2 separate regions of the Homo sapiens genome follow, and region 1 is linked to region 2. The links are contacts of gene promoters, found by promoter capture Hi-C in blood cells and fetal thymus (Javierre and others, 2016). All regions are on one chromosome and are shown on one strand. The core of a region is centred on a gene start or on the middle of the fragment in contact, and the rest is flanking DNA. Distances in the headings are between cores, read along the strand shown. Region 1 holds the start of QSOX2 (quiescin sulfhydryl oxidase 2). Region 2 holds the start of ARRDC1 (arrestin domain containing 1).

The links. The method cuts DNA at HindIII sites, captures the fragments that hold promoters and counts their contacts. A CHiCAGO score of 5 or more calls a contact.
Region 1: a contact is called between a fragment that was not itself captured here and the fragment with the promoter of ARRDC1 in region 2, in 1 of 17 cell types (fetal thymus). The highest score is 5.1, in fetal thymus.

Annotation. Positions count from the first base shown.
Region 1 is chr9:136,240,407-136,246,327 of GRCh38, reverse strand. It overlaps QSOX2 (quiescin sulfhydryl oxidase 2), which reads left to right and starts at 516. Exons shown (of 12, transcript NM_181701.4): 1 at 516-852. The coding sequence starts at 525. RefSeq lists silencers at 279-548, 579-988. The HindIII fragment of the contact is 3,219 bases long and covers 2,867-5,921 here.
Region 2 is chr9:137,604,096-137,610,057 of GRCh38, reverse strand. ARRDC1 (arrestin domain containing 1) reads right to left here and starts at 4,372. Exons shown (of 8, transcript NM_152285.4): 1 at 4,223-4,372. The coding sequence starts at 4,340. It overlaps LOC124902318 (a long non-coding RNA gene), which reads left to right and starts at 4,720. Exons shown (of 3, transcript XR_007061885.1): 1 at 4,720-4,761. RefSeq lists silencers at 3,701-3,970, 3,981-5,110. The HindIII fragment of the contact is 16,425 bases long and covers 1-5,962 here.

The DNA.
Region 1 (5,921 bases), core at 3,227-5,726, 1.4 Mb after region 2:
TTTGCTGCATTTTCTAAGCGTTCCAATATCATATTAAAAAGTCGAGGCTGGCTTGCAGACCCTCTGAAGCCCCAGGTGGGGTTGCCAAGTAAAAGAACCCCGGAATAGTTTTTTACGTCTAAGAATGTCTTGTTAAATTTGTATTTCAGGCATGGCACAGACCTAGGCTGAAAAACCGACTCACTGTTTGTCTGAAATTCACGTTGAACCTGGCGTCGTGCACTTCCATTTGCTAAATGTGGCCACCTGGCCCTGTTCAGGGAAGGGGTTTGGGGAACGCGCGGCGGGGTGGGGCGGGGCCTGGGCGGAGCCTGCCGCGCCTGGGCGGGGAGATGGCGTCATCAGACTCTTGGGGGCGGGGCTGCCACGCATGGGCGGGGGCGGGGGCGGGGAGAGAGGGCGGGGTCAGACGTGAGGGGGCGGGGCGGAACAGAACTGGGCGCGCGGGGGCGGGGCCGGGCGCGCCGGCGCACGTGACGGTGGTTGCCAGGGTGAAAGTTCAGCGCGCCGGCGGCACTTCCAACATGGCGGCGGCCGGGGCGGCGGTGGCGCGCAGCCCGGGAATCGGAGCGGGACCTGCGCTGAGAGCCCGGCGCTCGCCCCCGCCGCGGGCCGCACGGCTGCCGCGGCTGCTAGTGCTGCTAGCGGCGGCGGCGGTGGGGCCGGGCGCGGGCGGTGCGGCGCGGCTGTACCGCGCGGGCGAGGACGCCGTGTGGGTGCTGGACAGCGGCAGCGTGCGCGGGGCCACCGCCAACAGCTCGGCCGCGTGGCTCGTGCAGTTCTACTCGTCGTGGTGTGGCCACTGCATCGGCTACGCGCCCACTTGGCGGGCCCTGGCTGGGGATGTGCGAGGTGAGGCGCGCCCCCGCGCGGGGACCCCCCGACCCCCGGGACCGCGGCCTTCCGGGACCCCTTGCGACCGCCCCAGAAGGCGGGTCCCGGGGCCCCTCCCCCGTATTTCTTTCCTTACCGCAGAGCCAGTCCCTGCCCCACAGAGGCACCCGACTCGGACCAACCCTGGCCTTTCCAGGGGCGGGAGACTAAGCCAGCTGCTCCCCATGTCTCTCCCAGTTAATCCCCGTTAGATCCTGACGAGTTGGGCTGTCTGAAGTCAAAATGAAACCATTCTCCCGCAGCCCTCACCGCACGCTTGGGGATAGGGAAGCCCTCCCGTATCCCAGCTCTCAAAATACCTATGTTTTGAGCCCCAAGAACTTCATTGACCTTCCAGGCCTCCTACCCTACCTGTTTCCTAGCGTCCACACACCCCATCCCCAGTGCCCAGAATTCCTGTTCTCTGAGGATCCCTCATTCCTATTCCACACTCGTAGCCACCCCATTCCCTTTGAACCTTCATCATTAACTTTCTGGTTCGGATCGCTGGCCATATAGTGGGTGCTCAAAGTGAACCCACAACTTAGAAGTCCAAATACTCTGGAGACTTCTCTATAATACCCCAAAACAACCTATAAAGCAATTTTTTTAACTCTACAAAGAATTTCATTGGTGGGCTCCTTGATCACAGATGCACAGCCTTTGAGAAATCTTTCACCAAACTGCTGGTAGTGTTCCGCACTTTATTGTTTAGTGCTTTCATCTGGTCGCACGTTGTTAACCAGTCACGAAGTTACTCGCCTGCTCTACAGGTTAGAGTTGGCGTGGGAGGGGGCATTCACAACACCCTTCCCTTAAAATGGTATTTAAATCACTGAAGTAGGAGGTCCTCCCGACCCAGTGAGGTTTGGCAGGACTTCCTGTGTTGTGCTAACCTCAAATTACATGTTTCAGTGGGCAAGATCTGTAACAAATTGCTACTCTTTCTTCCTGCACCTTTGTTTTTATGCCTTACACCCAATCCTGCTGTATTTTTCTCATCGCAAACAGATTTGTAAAGAAACTTTTTTTCAAGTCTAAGTAGGGCTTTTGTATGTTACTGTAAATGGTTATCTTTAAAATGCATTCTCCTCTTAGAGAGCTGGGGCCTTTTGATTCTAATGGATTCCTCCTCTTTGATCTCATGTTTTCTTATGTCCCTGTTGACCTGACTCAGAACTGAGGTCAGAGACTGGAAGAGATGGACAGAAAAACTGTTCAGTGGGGTTTTTAGACACTGCTTTTAGGAAAACAAACAAGTAATTCAATCACGTAGGGAACCCTTCAGTTCTTGTGTGTTATTCAGTGGCAGAAACAGATATGTTCATTAAAATGCAGGTGGCCCTGGCAGGACTTGGTCACTTTTTTTGTGGGTTTTGGTTTTGATTTTTTTTTTTCAGTTGAGTCGCTGAAGTCTAAAGATCGTACCAGATTCAAATATTGCAAATTCTGTAACCGAAGCAGCACATAGGCAGCCTTGAGAACTGTCCCTGGAGCTCAGAAGGAAGGCCCCTCCTGAGAGCCACACAGTAACGTCCATACCCAGTGGTGTGATGAACTCAACTCAGTAAGCCTCCTTTAGTGAGGCTGACTGTCTTCCCAGTCACGACAGGAAGAACAGGCTTGTGCCTGAGACTGAGACTGGAGGAGGATATGGCTGAAAGTGAAAGACAGCGGTGACCTGACCAGGCAGCAGGGAGAGGGCTTCAGGGAGCCCAGGCAGAGGGTCCTGTTGGCTAAAAAGCCAAACTATAAAATACTGAAAGAGGTTTGTTCTGAGCCAATAAGTGTAGTGGCCATGGCCAGGGGAACAGTGTCAAGAGGTCCTAAGAAAGTGTGCTCTAGGCAGTCACGTTAATTTGATTTTATACATTTTAGGGAGACAGAAGTTATAGGCAGAGAGACATAAATCAGTACATGTAAGGTATAGGAAGGGGTAGGTTTACAGATCATAGGTGGATTCTGACTGGCAATTGATTGAAAGAGTTAAGCTTTGTCTAAAGACTTGAAGTCAGCAAAGAGAAATGCTTGAGTTAAGCTAAAGGGGCTGTGGAGGCCAAGGTTAAGTAGATGAAGCCTCACAGGCAGCAGCCTTGGGGAGAATAGAGGGTAAATGTCTCTTTTCAGACCTGAATGCTGTCAGACTCGTTAAATGTCTCCTAGATCCAGGAAAGACCTAGAAAGGGAGGGAGATTCTCTACAGATGCAAATTTCCCTCACAAAAGACAGCTTTGCAGGACCATTTCAAATATGTCAGGGAAATAAATGTATTTGGGGGTGAAATATTTTGATTTCCTGCAGGGTGTGCTATTTGTCATGTGGTGCTGTACCCGAGTCAGGCTGGAGTTTGGTGTCGTTGCTGCTGAGGCTGTGCTGTCTGTCTGTGATCTCTGTTTCATCACGCTGGTCAGCTCTGCCTAAACTCCAAAGGGAGGTGATGTAACCAGGCGTGTCTGACCTCCCTTGCCGTCAGGGCCTGGAATTTCTTTCCTCAGGTTGCCCTGGGGTCTCCTTGGCCAAGAGGGGGTTCAATTCAGTCAGTTAGGGGACTCAGGATTTTATTTTTGGTTTACAGTCCTGAGAGCCAAGCTGTGCCCATGAGGCTTGTGGGAGGTAGAGTCCGGGTAGAAAGGGATGAAAGGCCCTTGGCACTGAGGAGTCCCCGGAGCTGTTCTAAGGCTGGGACTCTCAAAGTAGGGCCACTTAGGGCCTTGTTAGAAATGCCTGCTTCTCCACAGCCCCAGCCCAGACCTGCCAGCTCAGAACTGTCTGCTTGGCGCCTGGCTCCCTGTCTGTCATCCCTGCGTGGAGCTGTCCCACAGGGATAGGGCGCCCATTGCCCGTGGCAGTGCAGGGGTCTGGCTGCATGCAGGCATTCCCGTTGTCAACATTCTCATGTTTTCTTATGTCCCTGTTGACCTGACTCAGATCAGTCACCTGTGGCCCTGATCAATCACCTGTGACTTAGGTCATCCTGCTGATCCCCTGGGGGCACACAGGCCATGGCTTGGGCCCCCACTTCTACCTAGAGTGTCCAGCCGCCTTCTCCCACTGGTCCCCCTGGCCAGCGCCCGCCACGCCCTGCGTTCTTCATGCCTGTGGCTGCTGGAGAGGATGGTTAGGTGTGGGCTCTGCTTCCCAGGAGCCTCCAGCTGGAAGGAGCAGGACAGGCCAGGGCACCTTTGTTTTCCTCAGAAATTTGGATTGAACTTTAGCTCTTGACTGGCTTTTTCAAGGCTGGGAAAATAAATGTTTTTTCTTATAAGAAGGTGGCTTAAGAAACAAAAGTTGTACTGTTTGGTGTGACCAAGTGTCATTCTAGTGTTTGTGGAGATTTGGCTTAAGCCTGTCACTTCTAAGTACTTTGCAGAACAAAACCTTGTTGGGTTCCTGAAGATCTGCCTGGCAGTGATGGTTGCTGGGTTTGTGATGGAAGATGAGGCACCAGGGCCTGGGGCTACACTTTGGCCCGTCTGACCGGTGAGATCTCCGAAATGCCTCTGCAGTCTTGAGTGGACAAGAGGGTGCACCCTAAAGGCAGGGCCTGTGTCCCCGTGCGCCCTCTGTGGCCCTGGTGCCTGTTCCCTCCCATCTCCTTCACTTGGTCAGCCTGAGAAAACAGGGCAGGCCACCACCCACAACAGGCTGAGTCCTCCTAGACCTGCCCTCAGGAGGGCGGGAACGCTTATGTTGTAGATGATAGCACATGAGGTTGCGTGGAACAGGCCGAGTCCTCCCACACCTGTCCTCAGGAGTGCGGGGGCGCTCATGTTGCAGGTGATAGCACGTGAGGTTGCGTGGGATAGTCACGGTCACGCAGCTGAGTGACAGGCCGGGATGGGTGTCCAGGTGTGGGTGACCTGGAGCCATGGCAGTTCATTCCTGTGTCTTTGTAGAGGACAGGTGGGGGTTGGGAGCTGGACACATCCGACATCTCTTGAAGGAAGGGTAGGGCATTCTGTGATTGCTGCCAGCTCCTCTGTCCCACTTGGTCTGGTTTCTTGTCTACTCGACTAGGCTGCAGGCTTCTTGGAGATGAATTAGAACTTGGTGTTCCCCACAGGCTCATTGTCCGTTTACTGGAAAAAGAAACAATAAGGGCCAGAGGGAGGGGGACATGCAGGTGTCAGCGGGCATTTGGCGGGGCTGACGGCCCGTGAGAGCTGCCAGGTGCTCACTGGACTCGGGAGGATGGAGAGGGTGGAAGGAGGAAGAGTTGGGCAGTGGAGGCCTCCTGTCTCCTTACGGGCCCAGAAATGGCTTAATGTAGCCCCGCTGTGGCGACCACATGAGTATTTTACAGAAAGGATGGTGCATCGGAGCAGCCGGGCTCCCCGCTGGCCTCCCCAGTGGCTGTGGTTGGTGCGTCTGAGACTACACCGAGAGACCCAGGCCACTTACTTGTTGTTGAAGTAAGACGGGATGGTTTGCTAAGAGGGCCTTACAGCCACGTCCAGGGAGCCGTCTCCGCTGTGTCATGCCGGTCGTCGTGCCATGGGGTGACCCAGGTCATAAGCACTGCTTGGGCTTCCCTGACAGAGGACGGGCTGAGGGACTGTCATTCCCTACCAACAGATAAACAGCATTGGAATTGCTGTCACCTCGGAGCACCCTTCGAGGCTGAAGAACGTGTAGTTTTGGTTTACCAGAATTGAGTTAAATGCTGGGGATCAAGAGTCCATGGGACCCAGCCCTGCCCTCAGTCCCCAGATGAGGCGACCGTAGCGTGTGCCCGGGTTTTCTCAGACCAGCCCTTGGCAACTTCTAGGTGATTTGTGTTAGGCTCTCCTGGTCGCTAGGTGGGTTTCATTTCTACCCAGGCCTGTTATTCCAAACTTGTGCCTTGAACTTGGAGCTTAGCTAAGAAGACCTTTGCTCAGCCAAGAGGGGGCTCCACCCAGAGAGGGTCTTCTCCAGGGACTGGTATGCGGAGTTCGAGACCCCAGCATGGCCCTGACTCAGGAAGGAGAGGCTGCAGTGGACCTCTGTCCCTTAAACACAGCTCCCTAGTTGCCTTTCAACTTGGGAGATTGTTTTATCTTTACTGT
Region 2 (5,962 bases), core at 3,123-5,622:
CAGATCACGAGGTCAGGAGATCGAGATCATCCTGGCTGACACGGTGAAACCCCCGTCTCTACTAAAAATACAAAAAATTAGCCGGGTGTGGTGGCGGGCGCCTGTAGTCCCAGCTACTCAGGAGGCTGAGGCAGGAGAATGGCGTGAACCCGGAAGGTGGAGCTTGCAGGGAAAGCCCAAATGACCTACCATTTCAATCCATCAGATTGACAAATATTAAATGTCTCGACACAGCTGGGCGCAGTGGCTCACGCCTGTAATCCCAACACTTTGGGGGGCCAAGGCGAGCGGATTGCTTGAGGCCAGAAGTGTGACAGCAGCCTAGGTAACACGGTGAAACCCCATCTCTACCAAAACTACCAAAGATTAGCTGGGTGTGGTGGCGCGTGCCCCTGGTCCCAGTCACTCAGGAGGCTGTGGTGGGAGCCCCGGAGGAAGGAGTTGCAGTGAGCCAAGATTGTACCACTGCACTCCAGTCTGGGTGACAAAGTGAGACCTCATCTCAAATAAAATCAATGTCTTGGGGCCAGGCACAGTGGCTCACGCCTGTAATCCCAGCACTTTAAGAGGCTGAGGCGGGCGGATCACCTGAGGTTCGGAGTTCCAGGCCCGCCTGACCAACACGGAGAAACCCCGTCTCTACTAAAAATACAAAATTAGCCAGGCCTGGTGGCGCGTGCCTGTAGTCCCAGCTACTCGGGAGTCTGAGGCAGAAGAATCACTTGAACCAGGGAGGCAGAGGTTGCGGTGAGCAGCTGAGATTGCACCACTGCACTCCAGCCTGGGTAACAAGAGCAACGTAAATAAATAAATAAATAAATAAATGTCTCAACACACGTTGGAGGGAGGTGGAACACAAACACCCCTTATTCCAGTCAAACTGCAGACAAGTACGAGGTTCTGGCAAAGAGTGGGACAGGTCTACTGTAATTTTACCTGTGCATACCAGGAGACCCAGAATTCCGCTTAGAATCTCATGGTATTTAACCGGGAGCCTCACACGCCACTGCTCCTACTAGCAAAGCATCGCGAAAACCGTCATGGGACATTGACTCCACAAAAACAAACAGTATGCAACTGACCCTTGGGTCATCCTAAGGGTCCAGGTTCTGTGATCTTCCCAACGCCCATGCAGATGGCCCCGTTTTGCACATACACCAAGGCTCTTTGAGATGACTCTGCCAGAGTAAGCAGCCTCCAACCACTGTCCAAAGTGAAACCTGTCCCGAGCTGCCCCACACACTCCTCAGTAAGAACACGGGAGGCAAGGGGCTCCCGCACAGCTGCCAGCTGCTTCCCTGCCAAAACACCTGGAGCTGCTCCTCTGCCTCTCAGCAACTGCTTCAGGTCAGGCTGGGTGAATTTCCCAGGGAGCCCGTTTTCACTGGCCAGGCCAATGGCAGCGGCCATGTTTCTGCCTTTTCAAATCATCGAATCAGGCAGGACCACAGGATGCAGTTCTGCCCACGGAGAAGCCAGAGCAATACATGGGGTCCATTGTGAGGGGTCTCCCTGCTGCTGGCGGCATACGACCCCGCTCCCTCTTCTTTCCAGCTTGCAGACTGCTTGTGATGGCAGAACACGCTGAAGGGAACCGAGCCTTTCGCAACAGGAAAGCCACCAGGCAGGGCTTGGCTGCAGGACTGAGTGGCTCAGTGGCAGTCCCCTAGTCAGAGTGTGACTTCTTCCGCCTTCTGGACTTGAACGTTGCACCTCTTTGCAGGGGCCCTGCAAGCCCTGTCCCTCCTCCCCCATGCAGGTTTAAAAAATGTTTCCTGGCCAGGCACGGTGGCTCACGCCTGTAATCCCAGCACTTTGGGAGGCCGAGGCGGGCGGATCACGAGGTCAGGAGATCCAGACCCTCCTGGCTAACACGGTGAAACCCCGTCTCTACTAAAAATACACAAATTAGCCGGGTGTGGTGGCGGGCGCCTGTAGTCCCAGCTCTTAAGGAGGCTGAGGCAGGAGAATGGCGTGAACCGGGGAGGCGGAGCTTGCAGTGAGCCGAGATCGCGCCGGCACACTCCAGCCTGGGCGACAGAGGGAGACTCCGTCTCGAAAAAATAAATTAAAAAAATAAAAATAAAAAATGTTTCCTGTGTTCAGATGCACAAGCAAGGACAAGCTGCTGGAGGCTGCAGGCCTCTCTGACTCTAAGGAAGATCATGACTGGGCTGCGTTCTCAAGTGACCACTGGAACTTTCTTCTCCAGCTGGGGCTCCCACCTGTTCAGCAGCCCCTCCCTTGCACCACCTGCACTTGGACCATGAAGACCCACCCACTCCTCATCCTCATCCCAAAGGACTCACGCCTGCCACAGAAGCTGTGACCTGTAAGCCACTCCCCCAGTCCTGTTTCCAAATCTGTATCATGAGAGTAACAACCGTGCCACTTGCCAGGGCGCTGAGGGTTAACTGAGGCTGGCCCGTGGCACGTGGAGAGAATTGCATCGGGCCCACCATGAGTGCTCCGAGAACCACTGTCGGCCCTGGTCGCCCATCCCAGTAACAGCAGAACAAGAAGTGGTCCTGCCTGAACCCCAGCCCTGGACTGGGCCAGCCTGAGCTCCAGAAAACTGCTCCCTCCCAGGCCTCCCTCCGCGTCAGCCCTTTAGACAGCCGGTGTCCTCACGGCTGGGTGCTGACTGTCACCGACACTCATCGGCAGAGTAAGTGAGCAAGCTCTGGGGCCCAGGCAGGGCTGCTGTCCTCCTGGGGGCTGAGGGCCTCCCTACTGGCTCCTAGCAGGATTGACAAGCATCCTCTGAATGAGGAAAAGAAACCATGGTCCTTCTGTTCCCATCCCAGGCAGGGCTGGGGGAAACCCCCGGGGGCCCCGGTACACCCTCCCACCTCACTTGCAGCAGCCTGAATCATGTGCTCTCTGGCCCATCAGGGCCCATCTCCTACTCCTTAGCTCACGACCCTCCTTTTTCTCCCTCATTCAGACCAGCCTCTGTGAGGTAGGACCATCAGCCAGTGCTCCCTCGGCTCTTGGGCCAGCTGCCCAAAGTGCTGGGATTACAGGCGTGAGCATTCAACCCACCCACCACGTCCACCCGGAGGCCAGGGGAGCCTGCACACCCAGGCCAGTCACGCACCGCGGGGCCGTCCCTTCCCTGTGGTAAGCAATGGCCTGCTCACCCCAGGCCACGCCAGGGGAAGGACGACAGGGTCCTGCACAGCCCTCAACCAGGATCCAGCCGGCCTCACCACACACCACACCTGTACCCAAGAGATGTGTGTGCTATCTCTGCCCTGCCACGGCCACACCTGCCCCCACCCAGACCCCAAACTCAAGGTTGGGACAGAGGAAGGGAGGCTGTGGGGTCATCCCAGGAGGCCCAGTGGGGCCAGGAGCCTGACAGAAGCACCTACCACCCGGCTTCTTCCGAGGCCCCACAGCCTCAGGCGGTGCAGGGTCAGGGCCACAGCACCATCACCTGTCCCAGGAGGCTGAGAGGACAGAACAGAGACTGTGGGTTCTCAGCAGGCACAAAATCGGTGCTGTTACCCACGCGCGGGCCCAGCGGTCAAGGTCCAGCGGCAAGTCCAGGGGCTGTGGCACAGGCCAAGCAGCCCAGGTGGTTCCCACAGGAGGCCAAGGTAGAGAAGTCCCCGGCAGGGACGCGGCACTCACAGCCAAGGGCCGGGCAGAGGCAGCCTCACCTCGCGGGCCGGCCCTCACCTCCAGGGCGCCCTGCCAGCGGCCACTGCAGCAACCCGATACCCAGTCCCCGAGGCCCAGGCGTCCACCTCGGCGGGGGGCCGGCGAGGCCTGCTGGCGGGTGGCAGGGGGCGCAGGGAGCCGCAGCAGGTGTCTGCACCCCGCCGGGACCGCACGCCCGCGCCAGGAGCGGCTCTGCAGCGGGAGCGCCTGCGCCGGGAGCCAGGGTGCGGGAAGGAGCCCAGCAGGTGCGAGCGCGGACGGGGAGGGTCGCAGGCCTGCGTGCGCCCGCGCTCAGGGCGTCCTCCACAGTGGACCCGCTTCAGGCCCCGCCGGGACCCCGCCGCCCCTCGGCGAGAGGGCAGGAAGGGCAGACGCGGAAGGGCGGCGCCGCCCGGACCTCCCCGGCGCCGCCGAGCCCGCTTCCCAGCAGTCCCGGGCGGCGAAGACAGCGACTCCGCGGGCCCAACCCGGGGCCAGGCGACGGCAGCCGCTTCCGGGAGCCCTGGCCCCGCGCAGGTGCGGCCAAAGGCCCTCCCCGAGGACCCGCGCCCACCTCGGAACGGCAGCGGTGCCCCCAGGCGCACGCGCACGGTCCCAGCCAACGGCTCCCCGGGGCTGTAGACGACGCGGCCGTGGCTCAGGCTGATCTCGAAGAGCTGCACTCGCCCCATGCCGCGGCCTCACCGGCCAGCCGCGCAGCGACGCCCCCGCCCGCCGCCCGCGAGTCCCGGCTCCGAGGCCCGGCCCCGCCCCCTCCTATGCCCCGCCCCCATCCGTCCCAATCCCGGCCTCCACCCCCATCCGGCCCCTCCCAGGCCCTGCCCCGCCCCACGGCCCCGCCCAGCCCCCCGGCCGCCCCGTAGCCCGCGGACTGCCGCTCGGAGGCCCGGCCCAGCCCCTATTCCCCGCCCCATCCGTCCGTGTGGCCCCGCCCCCTCGTTATTCCCCGCCCCTCTGACAGCCTCCTCGCCCCGCCCCCGCCCTTCGCCCCTGCCTCGCCTTCCCAGCTCCGCCCCTGCCTCGGCCGCCCCACCCCTGCCCCGCCCCCCGGCCGCGCTCATCCATCCCCGGCCCTGGCCCTGTCCCGGCTGGGTAGGTGCTGCGCTGCGTCGGGCGCCGCTTAAGGGACTTGAGGCGCAAGCGTCCCGTGCGTCCCCCACGGAGGGAGTCACCGCCGCGTCTCCGTCGGGGGGCAGGGCTGGGGGCGGGGCCGAGGCGAGCTCTGAGACTGGGAAGGTCTCCCCGCTGCACTCTGCTGCGGGCAGAACCCACTCCTCCGCCCCCACCCTCCGCCCGTCCCGCCCAGGGGTCTCCCTCACCCCGAGTCGCGGAAAAACGTCACGGGGCCGCGCGGGCGTCCTGGGCGGGGATGCTCCGCCGCGTAGGACCTGCCCCGCCTCAACCCCCACCCCCGGCTCCTGCCCCGCACCCCCAACCTTCTCCGCACCTACCTCGCGTCCCAGCACCTGTCGCGCCCCTCCGGAACCTGCCCGCCCTCCCGCCTTCCCGGTACCTGCCTACCCCCGCAACTGTCCCGGCCCCCAACACCTGCATCGCCCAACCCCTTCCCCCCCCGCCCCCTGCCTTCCCCGCACCTGCCCGGAGTCCCAGCACCTGCCCCGCCCCCCGCTATCCCCCTCCTTGCTGGCCTGATGGGGTGTGGGCCCAAGGGAGCCACACTTGGGCGGAGGCCCTTGGGCAGGGGTCCGCAGCAGAAGGGTCGGGGGCCAGGTGGGGCGAGGACTTGGATCACTTGAAACCAGGAGGAACACACTCCCATTTATCTTTTTTAAAGGGTCCCTTTGTAGAGAGTGAGCCGCGGGGGGTGGGACTCAAATACCCAGGGGACCTAAGGCGGGAGAGACCGGTTGGGTAGTCCTGGAGAGGGAAGGCGTCGCTCGACAAGGACCAGCTCACCACGGAGTGGGTGTGCGGGCCCCAGTGCTGCGAGTTTTTCTAGGACAGCCGGTGAAGAGGGTGGCCTTCTCTGATGGGGAGGACGGACCTAGATACACATGGTTTGGGGGTGGGAGGGTCATCACATGCAGAGTCTGAGGTGCCACTGATCCCCAATGGACCAAGTACTTCCGTGCATGAGCCTGGGAGTCAAGCACTAAAATGTTGCCATCCCTAGTTGGTAGAAGGTAACAGGTCAGGGAGGAGGAGTCTGGCACCCCAGCAAAGAGAAAGGGGCTCACAGGCTGGAGGGGCCCCCGGGCCAGGCTGGGAGAGGCCCTGAAGCCCCAGGCCCAGCTCACTCCCTTAGGATTCCGATGTTTCCGGAGGTGGGTCT